Regions from separate parts of the Homo sapiens genome. Here region 1 is linked to region 2. Evidence: promoter capture Hi-C in human tissues and cell types (Jung and others, 2019). All regions are on one chromosome and are shown on one strand. The core of a region is centred on a gene start or on the middle of the fragment in contact, and the rest is flanking DNA. Distances in the headings are between cores, read along the strand shown.

Region 1 (7,805 bases), core at 1,984-4,483, 290 kb before region 2:
GTCAGCTTGTTAGAAGAATGAGGATGGTGACAGCCGGGGATCTGGGGAGGAAGGAGGCCTTTGGAGATGGGAGTTGGGGAGGCTGTGATTGGGGGATGTTGAGCAATGGCTTGAGGAAGTCGAAGGATCAACCTTCCCGAGTATTCCGAGTTGGTCTGGAGCTGACGGGGAGTGGCTGGGCTGGGTGAGGGGAGGTGACAGTGACATTGAGTTTGGGGACACAGTGCTCATCTCTCCCTGCTGGGCTTTCTGGAAGGTGGAGGACAACAGGAGGGAAGCCGAGCATCCCAGGACAGAGCTTTGCAAAGTTACAGCTGGTTCCTGCCCTCTATACTCAACTCTAGCAACTGTGACTCTCTCCTAGAGCAAGCCTGACCCTACTGAGACCCCTACCAACATAGAGACCACCTAACCCAACCCGTTACTCAGGTCACCTCACCACAGCAGAGGCAGGAGCAGGCCCAGGGCTGGAGAGAAGCCCATCCCCAGGCCCCAGGGCTCACAGCAAAGCCAAGGAGACAAGCAGCCACCAGGTGCACCGGATTAAGGCTGTCCAGGTAGGGGGCTCCATTTCCCCGTAGACAGAGGTAGCCAAGGGGACTATAGGGCTAGAGGAGGCATCCTGGAAAATCCCAGCCCTTCCCCAGCAGGTCACAGAACCGGCTCTCCCAGCTGAGGCCCTTCCCTCCCAGCAACATGTCCAGGGGCACCTGACTTGAACTATAAATAGAGGATGACGGAAGGCTCCGGAAGCCCAAGGGAGGGCAGGAGAAAGGAATTCTGATTCTCCCCCAGCGAGGCCCTGCAAGGCTGCACTGACAGAGCAATCTCTTCGAGGTTGGATAGGAGTGCCCCTGGCATTGGAGGTCCAGGAGGGCCATTCAGGCAGAAGGAACAGTCTGGGGAAGCAAGGAATGGAGCAGGCAGGTGGCTCTGAGAGGCTGGACACAGGCTGCAAGGGACTGCGGCAGTTCCTGAGACCCAGTGGCCAAGGGCCCTGAATGTCAGGCTAAGGGCTTTGTTCTGGAGACCTGAGTCTTGGTCTCAGGGCCGTTCTGGTTTTGTGGTGAGGAGTTAAGAGTAACACACAATGGGGGGAGGGGGGAGGGATAGCATCGGGAGATATACCTAATGCTAGATGACGAGTTAGTGGGTGCAGCGCACCAGCATGGCACATGTATACATATGTAACTAACCTGCACAATGTGCACATGTACCCTAAAACTTAAAGTATAATAAAAAAAAAAAAGAGTAACACACAAGGCCGGGTGCAATGGCTCACGCCTTATAATCCCAGCACTTGGGGAGGTTGAGGCAGGTGGTCACTTGAGGTCAGGGGTTCGAGACCAGCCTGGCTAACATGGTGAAACCCTGTCTTTACTAAAAATACAAAAATTAGCTGGGCGTGGTGGTGCACACCTCTAATCCCAGCTACTCGGGAGGCTGAGGCAAAAGAATCGCTTGAACCTGGGAGGCGGAGGTTGCAGTGAGCTGAGATTGTGCCACTGAACTCCAGCCTGGGCAACAGAGCAAGATCCCATCTCAAAAAAAAAAAGAGTAACACACAAGAACATGTAACATACAAGAACAAGGTCACCTGGAGCAGAGTACCAGAAAGTACATGGCCATCTTTCCCCGTGGAATGGAGGAATACCATGGTGTGCCAGAGACTATAACTATTCCCCAACATCTGTTCTGTCTTCTTTGCCACGGAACCCCTGATTTTTGCTGGGCAAACAACCCCCTGAAATACAAGCTACATTTCCCAGCCTCCCTTACAGCCAGGTATGGCCATGTGTATAAGTTGTAAGAAGAAGTGCCACTCAGAGGCAGCAGGTTGCACCCTGTTACCTCTTCTCCCTTTCTGCTGGAAAGGAATATGCATGTGATTGCTCGAGCAGGAGCAGCTATCTTGGATCATGAGGTAGAAGCCCCATGTTAAGGATGACCAAGCCACAAGAAGGAAGTGATCTGGGTTTCTGATGTTTGTGGAGCTGCCACACCAGCCCTGGACCAGAACCTCCAAATATTGTTTACTCGAGAGAAAAATAAACTTCTATATTATAGTTTACCACACAGTTTCTTAAGTTTTCCTTCAGATGAACATAACCTAAGCACATACAGGAAAGGAATTAGCCTCGAAAGAAGAACCTCAGAATTTTATACGTCTTTTTTTTTTTTTTTTTTTTTTTGAGATGGAGTCTTGCTCTGTCGCCCAGGCTGGAGTACAGTGGCACGATCTCAGCTCTCTCCAACCTCTGCCTCCTGGGTTCAACTGATTCTCCTGCCTCAGCCTCCTGAGCAGCTGGGACTACAGGCACCCACCACCACGCCCGGCTAATTTTTTGTATTTTTAGTAGAGACAGGGTTTCACCATGTTAGCCAGGCTGGTGTCAATTTCCTGACCTCGTGATCCGCCCACCTCGGCCTCCCAAAGTGCTCGGATTACAGGCGTGAGCCACTGCGCCTGGCCTTACCTTTTAAGTATTAAGAGGTATGCTCTGATTACATTCCACATATCGTCTCTCATGAACTTGCTGCAGAACCTTCCTTCCAGGTGTAGGGGTGGAAAAGGCATGATACCTCTTCTCATCCATCATAAGGGTCACGGCTGACACTCCTATACCAAAAGACAGAGAGAAGTTAACAAGAGAAGAGCATAACAAATGTATTTAATCAAAGTTTTACATGACATGGGGGCCTTTGGAAATGAAGACCCAGGCCAGGCGTGGTGGCTCATGCCTATAACCCCAACACTTTACGAGGCCGAGGTGGGTGGATCACTTGAGGTCAGGAGTTCAAGATCAGCCTGGCCAACATGGTGAAACTCTGTCTCTACTAAAAATACAAAAAATTACCTGGGCATGGTGGTGCACACCTGTAGTTCCAGCTACTCGAGAGGCTTGAGACATTAGAATTGCTTGAACTCAGGAGGTGGAGGTTGCAGTGAGCTGAGATCATGCCACTGCACTTCATTCAGCCTGGGCAACAGAGCAAGACTGTGTCTCAAAACAAACAAACCAAAAAAAAGAAAAAGGAAAAGAAATGAATACCCAGACTGTACAGTACCTTTTTATGCAAAGGTTCGATGAAGAATGGACAGTCATATAGGAATGTGATTGGACCAGCTGGGCACAGTGGCTCACACCTGTAATCCCAGCACTTTGGGAGGCCAAGGTGGGTGGATTACTTGAGATCAGGAGTTCGAGACCAGCCTGGCCAACATGGTCAAACCCCATCTCTACTAAAAATATAAAAATTATCTGTACTTGGTGGTGGGCACCTGTAATCCTAGCTATTTGAGAGGCTGAGGCACAAAAATCACTTGAACCCAGGAGTTGGAGGTTGTAGTGAGCCGAGATCTCACCACTGCACTCCAGCCTGGGCAACAGAGTGAAACTCCATCTAAAGAAAAAAGTGATTGGAGGCCGGGCGCGGTGGCTCACACTTGTAATCCCAGCACTTTGGGAGGCCGAGGCAGACGGATCACGAGGTCAGGGGATCGAGACCACGGTGCAACCCCACCTCTACTAAAAATACAAAAAATTAGCTAGGTGCGGTGGTGAGCACCTGTAGTCCCAGCTACTCGGAGAGGCTGAGGCAGGAGAATGGCGTGAACCCGGGAGGCGGAGCTTGCAGTGAGCCGAGATTGCGCCACTGCACTCCAGCCTGGGTGACAGAGCGAGACTCCGTCTCAAAAAAAAAAAAAAAGTGATTGGAACAAAAGAGTATGACCTAAAGGTAATAGGCCAAGGGAAGGAACCCAGCGAGGCCTGTGTGTGTACATTCTTCTTGGCCTGTCTGCCATATTCCTTATTTCTGGGTATGGAGCAGGACCCCGCTGGAGCGAGGGTCTTACGGCCTACTATCAGACCAAGTGGAGTCAGAGAATTTCCTTATGGCCAGCTGCTACACAGAAAAGCAGGGGAAGGTAAGAGTAATAGTTCTATTTTCTTTTCTTCTTCTTTTTTTTTTTTTCTTGAAACAGAATCTCTGTCACCCAGTCTGGAGTGAAATGGCACAATATCAGCTCACTGCAAACTTCACCTCCTGGGTTCAAGCGATTCTCCTACCTCAGCCTCCCAAGTAGCTGGGACTGCAGGCGTGCGCCACCATGCCTGGCTAATTTTTGTATTTTTAGTAGAGACGGAGCTTCACCATGTTAGCCAGGCTGGTCTCAAACTCCTGACCTCACGTCAGGCTGGATCTCAGCTCACTGCAACCTCTGCCTCCTGGGTTCAAGAGATTCTCCTGCTTCAGCCTCCTGAGTAGCTGGGACTACAGGCACACGCCACCACATCTGGCTAAGTTTTGTATTTTTAGTAGACACAGATTTCACTGTGGCCAGGCTGGTCTCAAACTCCTGACCTCACGTCATCCACCCGCCTCGGCTTCCCAAAGTACCGGGATTACAGGCATGAGCCACCACATCCGGCTCCCAATATTTCTACTTTCTATGACCTACCTTACGGAAGAGGAATTCTCATTTCTATGGCTGCCTTGGGGGAGAAAAGTGGGGACAGGTCAGAGAGAGAGAGAGATACTGCTTCTGAGGCTGCTTCTGAGACCTTCCAGTCTCCTTTAGCTCAAAGTACTCAGCATGCCACAGCACCATACTTTGGAATATCATTATCTCAGCCCCAATACGGGAAGATGCTTGAAAATGCACTGTGTTTGTTGCAGATCACAAGCAACATCCTATGAGAACGTGATTCCCATGCCAGGCCCCCCATCCAGACAGGCCTGGTTTTCTGGACCCCATGACTCAGGGCCCCAAGAGCCATGGGCTCACGGAAGCCCCAGAAACTTTATTTGACCCCTTTGGCATTCCTGGGTCGCTTCTTTGTCTCCTTTCCCAAAACACATGGTTGTGTGGTCTTATCTTGGCCACGATAACTACACAAGAACAAGAAGCTGCCATTCACTGAAGACACTACCATCTGCCCCCACAAGATCAGCACCCTAGGAGTGGACTGAACATGTGCCCTCTCCCCTTGGCTGAGACAGAAACAGAGGAGATGTGGCTCTTGGCTAAGGATTTAATGGAGCCCTTTCTGGGAACAGCCTTCTCTGTGCAGAACTGAGGGAGCAGTTGTTAGGGGCCCAAGCACCACTCTGCATGGTCATGCCACTTACTGGATCCAGGGCCAGCAGTGTTGAAAACAGGAGGTGGCTGGGAAATGTTCCCCTCTACCTTATGGCTCAGGCTCTGCTGTTCTGTCTCTGAGTCTTCTGTTTGCCTTCAGGAGCGGCTTGTGGTGTTCCCAGGGTATGGGAGTCCTGCCTGCGGAGGGAGATCTGCAGGTGAGCTAGGAGGGGCCGCCCAGATCCCTGACACTGCAAAGGCCAAGCCCACACCCTACCCCCCCATGCTGGGGCTGGAATGCCTTGGTCATTCCTCCTTACCCCGGTTGCTGGTAAGGTCCCTCCTGGTCCTGCCCCATACCTGGTGGGACTCACTTTCCAACACCCTGGGGGGAGGGGACATTCACACGGGCAAGGCAGGAAAAGGCGGCAAGTTTGAGGTTAAGAGAGCATGGGACAAATGAATGATTGGACCCAGAACCGCCTGGGTTTGATCTTGACTCCACCACCAGCTCTGGGAGCTGCCCAGTGACTTGACCTCTCTGAGCCTCAGTTTCCTCATCTGGATAACAAGAAAATTCATAATACCTTCCTCCTAGGGCTGTTATGAGTATTAAACGAATTAACACATGTCAAAGTTCAGGATGGTGAGTGGCGCATAAAACCTGCTCAGAGAAGATAGCTGTTAGTATTAGTATCAGTGTTAGTATTATTGTTAAAGTATTTCTTTTTTTTTTTTTTTTTTGAGATGGAGTCTCGCTCTGTCGCCCAGGCTGGAGTGCAGTGGCACAATCTCAGCTTACTACAGCCTCTGCCTCCCGGGTAGCTGGGATTACAGGTGCCCACCACCACATCTGGCTAATTTTTTTGTATTTTTAGTAGAGATAGGGTTTCATCATGTTGGCTAGGCTGGTCTTGAACTCCTAACCTCAGGTGATCCGCCTGTCTTGGCCTCCCAAAGTGCAGGGATTACAGGCATGAGCCACTGTGCCTGGATTGTTACAGTATTTCAAGAGATAAACTCAAACTCAGTGAGCCCCCTCAGGGAAGAGAACTAGTGAGGAATTAACTTCTGAAATGCCACCCCAGACATGCTCTCTCTAGCACACACCTTGAAGTATTACTCCGCACCCCTGTAAAGTTGTCTAATCACTCCAGCCCACCGGGAAGAGGGTCTCATCCTGTTTAGGGAGGTGGAGGAGTGTAGTGGTTTTGAGTGCAGACTTTGGGGCCAGACTGCCTGAGTCTGAATCTGAGCTCTGCACTGTTGGAAGGTTCCTTAACCCTCTGTTTCTTTGTTTCCTCACTTGTGGCATGGGAAGACGCAAGCACCTGCCTGGGAGGTTTAAGTGAGATCATGTGTGCCTGGTGAGCCCTGATGACAGCCTGGCATTGGTGGCACTGTGGACTAGGGGCTGGGTGCGGGAAGGTTGGGGCTGCCACAGGCCACCCCCGCTGGTGTCCCTAAGGGGTTGTGCCCTGGAACTCCAGTGTGACCAAGAGGGGGAGGGTGGTAAAGCCACATCATAACTTCCTCGTAGGCTCCTCTCTCCGAAGAGCCCTCGAAGCAGAGGGGCCCGAGTGGCTGCCTCAGGTGACCAGAGAGGTTCAGGCTCTGTCCAGCTCCCTCCAAGCTGGAGGCTGCTGACTGTGCAGGGCACAGGGTGGGGCACGCTGGTCCCCATTCGGTCATCTCATTCAAGCCTCCCTCTACCTACCTCCAGGAGGCTGGCATTTACTGCCCCATTCTGCAGACGAGGGACTAAGGCCCAGAGACCCAGACATGGCGGTATCAATTCCAGGCCTGACTGATCCTGGAGCGGCCCCATTCCTCACCAGGACATCCCTGGCATCCCCACTCTGGGATGAAGCCACTGTCTCCCATCTCAGGTACAGAGCCAGCCATGCACACTTTCCTTCCTTCCAGGTCTAATTTTCCATCCCAGCTAACTTTTCTGTTCCCACTTGCTGGCTCTCCCTTTCTCTATGTATCTGAAAGCTCACCCCTGTAATCCCAGCACTTTGGGAGGCCGAGGCGGGCAGATCACTTGAGGTCAGGAGTTCAAGACCAGCCTGGCCAACATGGCAAAACCCTGTCTCTACTGAAAATACAAAAATTAGCTGGACATGGTGGCATGCCTGTAATCCCAGCTTCTGGGGAGGCTGAGGTGGGAGGATTGCTTGAACCTGGGAGGTGGAGGTTGCAGTGAGCCAAGCTCGTGCCACTGTACTCCAGCCTGGGCAACAGAGCGAGACTCCATCTCAAAAAAAAAAAAAAAGATCAGTGAGTGATTTTTCATGCCTATGGACTCCGTCATGGAACCTCAGAGACTCACAGAGGTAAAAAGCAAGCCCTCCCTTCTAGAACTTGTCCAGGAGCTGGGGAGGAGGTTATGGTCTGGAATAGACATTCTGCAGCCCGGGAGGTTGGAGAGATCTGCCCTGGAGACAGCCAGGAGGGCTTCCTGGAGGTGGTGGACCTTGAGACGGGTTTGGAAGAGGTGGGGCCTTTTGGCCAAAACAATTCATGAAAGGCAACGAATGCCTGCAGACCTGGGATCAGATCTCAGCCTTGCTGCCACCTAGCTGGGTAACCTTGGTCCTGGTAATTAACCTGTCTTTGCCTCAATGTCCCCATCTGGAACAGAGGCATCAAGTCATTGATGAAGGAGTGTGACTTCCTGGCATGAGCACTGAGTCCAGAGGCTTGGGTCCCCACT
Region 2 (7,046 bases), core at 1,637-4,136:
GAAACCCCATTTCTACTAAAAATACAAAATTAGCTGGGCGTGGTGGCACATGCCTGTAATTCCAGCTACTCGGGAGGCTGAGGCAGGAGAATTGCTTGAACCTGGGAGGCGGAGGTTGTGGTGAGCCGAGATTGCGCCATTGCACTCCAGCCTGGGCAAAAAGAGCAAAACTCCGTCTCAAAAAAAAAAACCCAAACTAAAACAAAACAAAACTTCCCAACAGCCCTATGGAGGAAAGATGAGCCCAGTGAGGAAACTGAGGCACAGTTAAACTATTTTGCCCAAGGTCACACAGCCAGCAGGTGTCCAGGTCTGCCTGGCTCCAAAGCTGGTTCCCTTTTGGCCATATCATGCTGCTTTCTCGAGGGGCTGGAGGGAAGTGGAGGGTGACAGAGGTTGCCCTAGAAAGGACATGGGTTTGTGGCTCTCAGAGCCTACCAGGGACTGGAACACACAATGAAGTTGTGAGTTGGCCTCACTCCAAGCCCAGCCTCCAGCAGCACTACCCTCCAAGAAAGTGGCCTGCTCCCCATCATGATAATCTGTCTTTTACAGAGCCAGAAGAGGGTTTAGGGACCAGTGCTATCCCTGGTTTCAGTGGCCTGAAAGGATGGAAAAGGAAAGGAAGTCAAGTGAGGCCTCCAGGACTCTGCTTGATCAACACCACACAACCACTGGAGGTAGGCCTTAATTTGCCTTATAATGCAGATGAAGAAAAAGAGGCGCAGAGAGGTCTGTAAAAGGTCATGCAGCTGGTCAGTGGCAGGCTGAAATTTGAATCCAGATATGTTCAAGGCTTGTTTTGGTTCAAATCAGTGGGCCTGGAGCAAAGCCCAGGGACATGGCCAGCCTCCCACACTGTAGATCCCAGCTCCAGACCGGCCCACATAAGCCCCAAGGTTAGGAACGGTCACATGGTCATTCTTCACGATTCCTTCTGTGACCGGTACAATGTCTATTACAGAGCAGGTAACTGTTACTGTTTTACTCTGAATGCAAGACCCAGATAAGGGGCAGAGTGGCTCTGAAGGGACTCAAGAGGCTGCAGCCCCAGGCCTGGCTGGGACCAGCAGCCTCCAGGAAACAAAGAAAAGCAGGGATCAGACCCTGGGAGAGAGGATGACCCTCTCTCTTCACCCGTGAGCCTCAGGAGGCAATAGCATCTCTCAGTCAAAGTGTAAGGAGCTTTAGCTTGCCCAAGGCTGGGATCCTGCTTTGAGACCATGCTGCCATTCCCGTCCCGGCCCTGTATGACTCACCATGGTGTGGAGGCTCTGAAACAGGCTGAGTTCACACCGTTGCACTGAGCTGCTGGAGGATGGACAATCCTGTGCTACCTGGGTCTGAGTACAGTGGAGGCAGCAGCAGCACCTGCAGGAGTGGGTAACGATACAAGCTGCGGAAGGAACTCGCAGTCGACTGGCACAATCACGCCTTCAGCACCCTAGTAATTAGGGAGCTGCCCCAGACTTCGGTCCAAGTCCAAACTCTAGTACATGGGCTACGGATGGAGAAGAGTGTGGGGCTGACCAAGGTTCATGCCTGCACTTCACTGCCAGAAGACAGATCAATCCATGTCAAGCACAGGTCTGCCTTTATGTCCAGGAACAGCACCCACTTCATCACTAAAGGACAGTGATCCTCAGAATAACTATCTTTTACACGGGCATCACATGCAGCGAAAAAGTTAACAAAGCTCGTCACACGCTTGCCCTCACTGGCCTTGGCACCAAAAGGGAAGGGAATGGGGGGAGCTAGCCAGGTTTGTGACCCATTTTACTTCTGGGAAACAGACTCAGAGAGCTCTAGGGACTTGTCCAAGGTAATACAGGTAACAGCCAGAATCTAAACCAATGTCTAGTTTTTCTACAGAGTGTGTTTTTACTACTGATAATTCAGTGCCTCCAAAGTCAGGCAGAGTCTCTGCTATGGGAAAGGCAAGATGTAAACCACGATGACTTTCTAGCTTTTCCTCAGTTCAGCCTGGTTCAGCAGCGTGTTGGCCTCTGTGTGGGTGCACAATAGGAAGAATCAACATAGCTCTGCCTCAGCCTACTTGGGGTTGTGGGGAGGGTCTTAGGTAAACCAATTCCTCCCTAAGCCTCAGCTTCCTCATCTGTAAAATGGGGGTTGGCTCCTCTCTGGCATTCTGCGAGTGTGCCAAGCCACGTGGTATTCCTCTTGTTCCCGGGGAGCCTGTTTGATGTGGGGTACCCTGGAGGCTGCAGGGCTGACGGCTCTCCTGGCTCATTAAGGTTCCCTACGGAGAAATACTGGTTTTGTGTTTGAGGTTCGAATTTGTAGAGCAATAGGGGCACTAATAACGTTGGGCAAGCAGACCGGTGGGCCCTTTGAAGTCTGAAGAATCAACGCGCAAAAGGGAGGAGGTGAGCAGGTGGTCGTTCAAACGTCAGGCGAGGGCACCAGCTGGATCTGGAGGAACTGAGACAGTGAAAGGAAAGCAGGCAAGGTTCTAGTCTGGGATATGCACGAATCGCGGTCTCCCTTCCCTCTCTATGCCTCCGCAGTCCTTCCCGTTCCCAAAGGAGGAACAGCCCGAGGGCTCCTGGAGCAACGGAAGGAGGACTGGATGCGGGGAAGGGCAAAGGGCGCGGAACGGGGTGGGGAGTCTGCGGGCGAGCTCGGAGGACACTGGCGCACCTCCCCCGCCGGCTCACGGCCGCATCCGCCACATCCGAAGGCGCCGCGACTTCCCGGAGACCCCGAAGCGTGCGCTCTCATCCGGGTCCTGCGGGCGCTGGCGGAAAGAGGCGAGGCGGTGCCTCCGGGGGCGGGGCCTCCTTCGGTTGGCGGCCTCGGGCTTCGGGAGTCCTCCAAGAGGCCAGGTGAGGCCGTCCCGTGATGCCCCGCGCCCCGGCCGCTCTGGCCTGCAACGTGTCTCTGGGGCGGAGGCAGCGGCAGTGGAGTTCGCTGCGCGCTGTTGGGGGCCACCTGTCTTTTCGCTTGTGTCCCTCTTTCTAGTGTCGCGCTCGAGTCCCGACGGGCCGCTCCAAGCCTCGACATGTCGTACAACTACGTGGTAACGGCCCAGAAGCCCACCGCCGTGAACGGCTGCGTGACCGGTGAGGCTGCCGGGGCCGGAGACCCCGGCGAGTGAGGGAGTTGGGGGGAGCCGCGGCCTAGGGAGGCCCGCCGCCCCGGGGGCGGCCGGGCAGGAGTGGGCCCGGCGAATGGAAGGCGCTGGCGGCCGAGGAACCTCCCCCAGCACCGCGACCTCGAAAGAGTCGTCCCTGTACGCGCTTTTTGGGGGTTGGAAGCCGCTCTCGAGGGTCCCCTTTCGTCCTGGGGAGGTCATTCGGCCTCGAGAACAGGGCGGGCCCAGTGAGACAGAGGAGTGTGAGTTGGTTGTGCGGTGTCGTTTGGGCCCGGAGATTGGCTTTCTGTGGCCAGGAAAAGGGGAGGTGGTAATGACGACTTTGGGGTCAAGATTTTCCTGTGGGGAAGTCTGGGGGGCCCAGGAGGTGGAGGGATGTGAGGAATGCCCGCATTATCCCACAGAGGGAGAGGAGCCCTCTTCAGGCTAACCCCTTTGCCTGGGGCTGTTGTTTACATGAGGGCCCTGCTGGAGAAGAGGGTTTGGTTTGCCTGGCCCAGTGCTGGGTTTGCCTTGTTGACGATGCGCTTGGATTGTTAAGGACACCGATGTTCAGAACCCGGGAAGAGTCATCTTAACCCACATTCTCAGCTGAATATGCAGACCCCAAGCTTGCATGTTTATATACACCCTAATCATGATTCCAAAACAAAACTGTTGTTCAGAGTTGGAGGTAGCTGAGTGTGGATGGAGGTATTGGTAGACTGCCAGGAGGGCAGGGGGTGTGGACAAAACAGTGTTTTCATATAAAGCTCTGGGACTTCTTCATTTGACTTGGTCTGTCAGATAAAAGTTTTGTGAGACTTTAGATGAAGACTGGAAGAAGTGAACACTTTCTCCGGCATTCTCAATTAGAGCCTGCCACTGTAACTGTAATAGAGTAAAATTGGAGGGGCAAGAGGCATGAGAAGGGATTACGCAGTCATTGTCATTTGGAGGACACACGGCTCTTAGGTCCAGTCCAGTTTTCTTAGTCTGATTAGGGAAGTAGCTTTGTTGAATGCATGAACTGAGACTCTTTGAGGTGCCGGATTTGGCAAGAAGGGGAGTAGCTGGAGGGAGTTGGAGAAGTATGTGAAGTAAATGAGAATTCTGGAGGTATTTAGACATAAGTGATAGGATTATTTTGAAGGGATGGGAGGCCCTTCCCCTGAGTTCAAAAGTTAGAGGGTCTGTTCTTTCAGGACACTTTACTTCGGCCGAAGACTTAAACCTGTTGATTGCCAAAAACACGAGATTAGAGATCTATGTGGTCACCGCCGAGGGGCTTCGGCCCGTCAAAGAGGTGGGCATGTATGGGAAGATTGCGGTCATGGAGCTTTTCAGGCCCAAGGTAAGTGTTGCAGTTGGGACAAGCAGTGGAGGGGGAACTGTTGGTCGTAGGTTGTTTTATGTTATTTTTGTTTGTTTATTTATTTTCTTTGAGACGGGGGTCTCACAGTGTTGCCCAGGATGTCTTGAACTCCTGAGCTCAAGCAATCCCTCCACTTTAGCCTCTGGAGTAGAGTAGCTGGGGTATTGTAGGCATGCCACCGTGCTTGGGCTGTGTTAGGTTGTTTTGCGAATTCTTGGGATGGGTGGAATATGCTTTAGGAGAAAAACTCTTCTCTTTTTTCTCTCTTTGGATAGCAAATTTCAGTATGTACTCTTGACCAAGCTTTCTAGAAGTAAAAGGAGAGATTCATTAGGGAAACATTTATGAAGTTGACTTCTTTAGAAGGGAGAAATTAAAGCAGTTTGTTTCAGAGGATAGGCTACAGAGTGGGGCAGTCCTGGCTTCATTTCTTGTTAATTCTGACTTTAGGTGCCACTTAAGGCACCTTTCAGATCAAATCCCCTGGGTTGTTGTGACGATGAAATGATTCAGTAACATAGGGCCTATCATATAGCAAGCATTTACAGTTATGTTAACAATTACCAGGCCGGGCATGGTGGCTCACGCCTGTAACCCCAGCACTTTGGGAGGCCGAGGTGGGTGGATCACGTGAGGTCAGGAGTTCGAGACCAGCCTGGCCAACATGGTGAAACCCCATCTCTACTAAAAATACAAAAGTTAGCCGGGTGTGGTGGCACGTGCCTGTAATCCCAGCTACTTGGCAGGCTGAGGCACAAGAATTGCTTGAACTCAGGAGGCGGAGGTTGCAGTGAGTGGAGATGGCGCCCATTGCCCGGTGACAGAGCGAGACTCCATCTCCAAAAAAAAAAACACCAAACAAAAAAAACAATTACCATCAGTATTTTCATTATTTTAGCGCAAATGTTTTCATCCAAATCACCACCACATTGCTTTATGTTGTCTTAACTGAATCTGGCAAGAAAGCAGTGGGTTCAAAATTTTAATTATAACCCTTTGAACAAAACAGCAATTTTTTGGAGTCTGTGTTAAATAAGTAGGACTTTGTTGATCCATTTTAGCTTCCGTTGTTATTCCCACATTTTTTTTCCTCTTTCTTCAAATACTTGGGGAGGAGTGGAGGAGGCATTACATTCATCTTTCAGAATTTGAATGGGATGATTGAGATTAGCTTGAGATTGAAATAGATGAAGACTTTGTTTGTAGAACAGAGAGATGGAGAATCATGAAAGTGAGAACTAGATGTTTACCAGCTTCAGTTCTGGCTTTTTGTACATGCCCTTAGGGTGTATGTGTACCTAGTGTGGGTTACAAGCTCACCATGTATTTTCTCTTTAGGGAGAGAAGAATTTGGAAAATTCTTAAAGAATTTGGTGTGCTTAAAGACTGGACAGGTTGTTCCTGTTTTAAAAAGAACCTCTTTTGATAGCATAATATTGGTTTCCAGGGGGAGAGCAAGGACCTGCTGTTTATCTTGACAGCGAAGTACAATGCCTGCATCCTGGAGTATAAACAGAGTGGCGAGAGCATTGACATCATTACGCGAGCCCATGGCAATGTCCAGGTGAGGTGGCTGCTTTAGGCCAATGAAAGTTTTCTAAGTAGGGCTGTCATGATTCATGGAAAAAATTAAAGTGCTGGGGGCAGCTCTCTATTCGATCAGAGAAATAAGGAGAAGACACTATGGGTTTGAGCTTTTTGGAGAAAGGACTCCTGTAGTTCACTCAAGACCCAAGGGACAGGGTAATAATTCATTGAGATTCAGTGTTTCATGAAAAAGGCATGCACTGACATTGGGGCTCCAACTATTTGGCCTATCAAATAGATCCATTAGTTTTAATACCTCTCCTAAAATTTTTCTGCACAAGTGGTGCCCAGCGTCCTCTGTTGCTCTGTGGATGTTGAGGTTCTTCCCTAATCCCGATTTTGTTTCTCAGGACCGCATTGGCCGCCCCTCAGAGACCGGCATTATTGGCATCATTGACCCTGAGTGCCGGATGATTGGCCTGCGTCTCTATGATGGCCTTTTCAAGGTTATTCCACTAGATCGCGATAATAAAGAACTCAAGGCCTTCAACATCCGCCTGGAGGAGCTGCATGTCATTGATGTCAAGTTCCTATATGGTTGCCAAGCACCTACTATTTGCTTTGTCTACCAGGTACTGGATCAGGAAGAGAGAGCGAGAAACTGTGAGGTTGATGTGATAGGAGTTGTTTTTGCTAACTGGCATGTCTGGGTTTGGTAGGATAGAGAGAAGTGTTTAATGTGTTTGTCCTGAAATGTTTTGAACAACACAATTAATATGGGTCAGACTTTCGTTGCTTCTTGAGTGCAGTAGTACTTATTGTGGAGGCAGCAAGCTCTCTGGGGCTTGTAGCAGGTTTTAATCCTGAGATTACACTCTGGTTGTGGGCCTTGGGAGATTTCATAGGATGACCCAGTTTATACTTTGATTCTCTTACTGGAGTGCTAGGGGATTATTAAAACTTAGTTGTCAAGAAATTATCTAGATCTTGCCTTTATATTAAGCAAAGAGAAATTGTCTTGGTGATGCCTTATATGTGTTTTTTAAGAAG

The links. The method cuts DNA at HindIII sites, captures the fragments that hold promoters and counts their contacts. A contact is called where the count stands out against the background at its distance.
Region 1: a fragment that was not itself captured here is called in contact with the fragment with the promoter of DDB1 in region 2 in 1 of the 25 tissues and cell types used here (aorta).

Annotation. Positions count from the first base shown.
Region 1 is chr11:61,619,800-61,627,604 of GRCh38, reverse strand. It overlaps the pseudogene RPLP0P2. Among named protein-coding and RNA genes, the nearest start is that of SYT7, 43 kb to the right of the region's middle. RefSeq lists enhancers at 318-878, 879-1,441. The HindIII fragment of the contact is 8,232 bases long and covers 1-7,349 here.
Region 2 is chr11:61,328,945-61,335,990 of GRCh38, reverse strand. It overlaps DDB1 (damage specific DNA binding protein 1), which reads left to right and starts at 2,886. Exons shown (of 27, transcript NM_001923.5): 1 at 2,886-3,083; 2 at 4,300-4,448; 3 at 5,917-6,033; 4 at 6,407-6,628. The coding sequence starts at 3,023. TKFC (triokinase and FMN cyclase) reads right to left here and starts at 2,763. Exons shown (of 18, transcript NM_015533.4): 1 at 2,662-2,763; 2 at 1,260-1,371. The coding sequence starts at 1,262. RefSeq lists enhancers at 2,279-2,801, 2,802-3,324 and a silencer at 2,624-2,883. The HindIII fragment of the contact is 10,331 bases long and covers 1-4,249 here.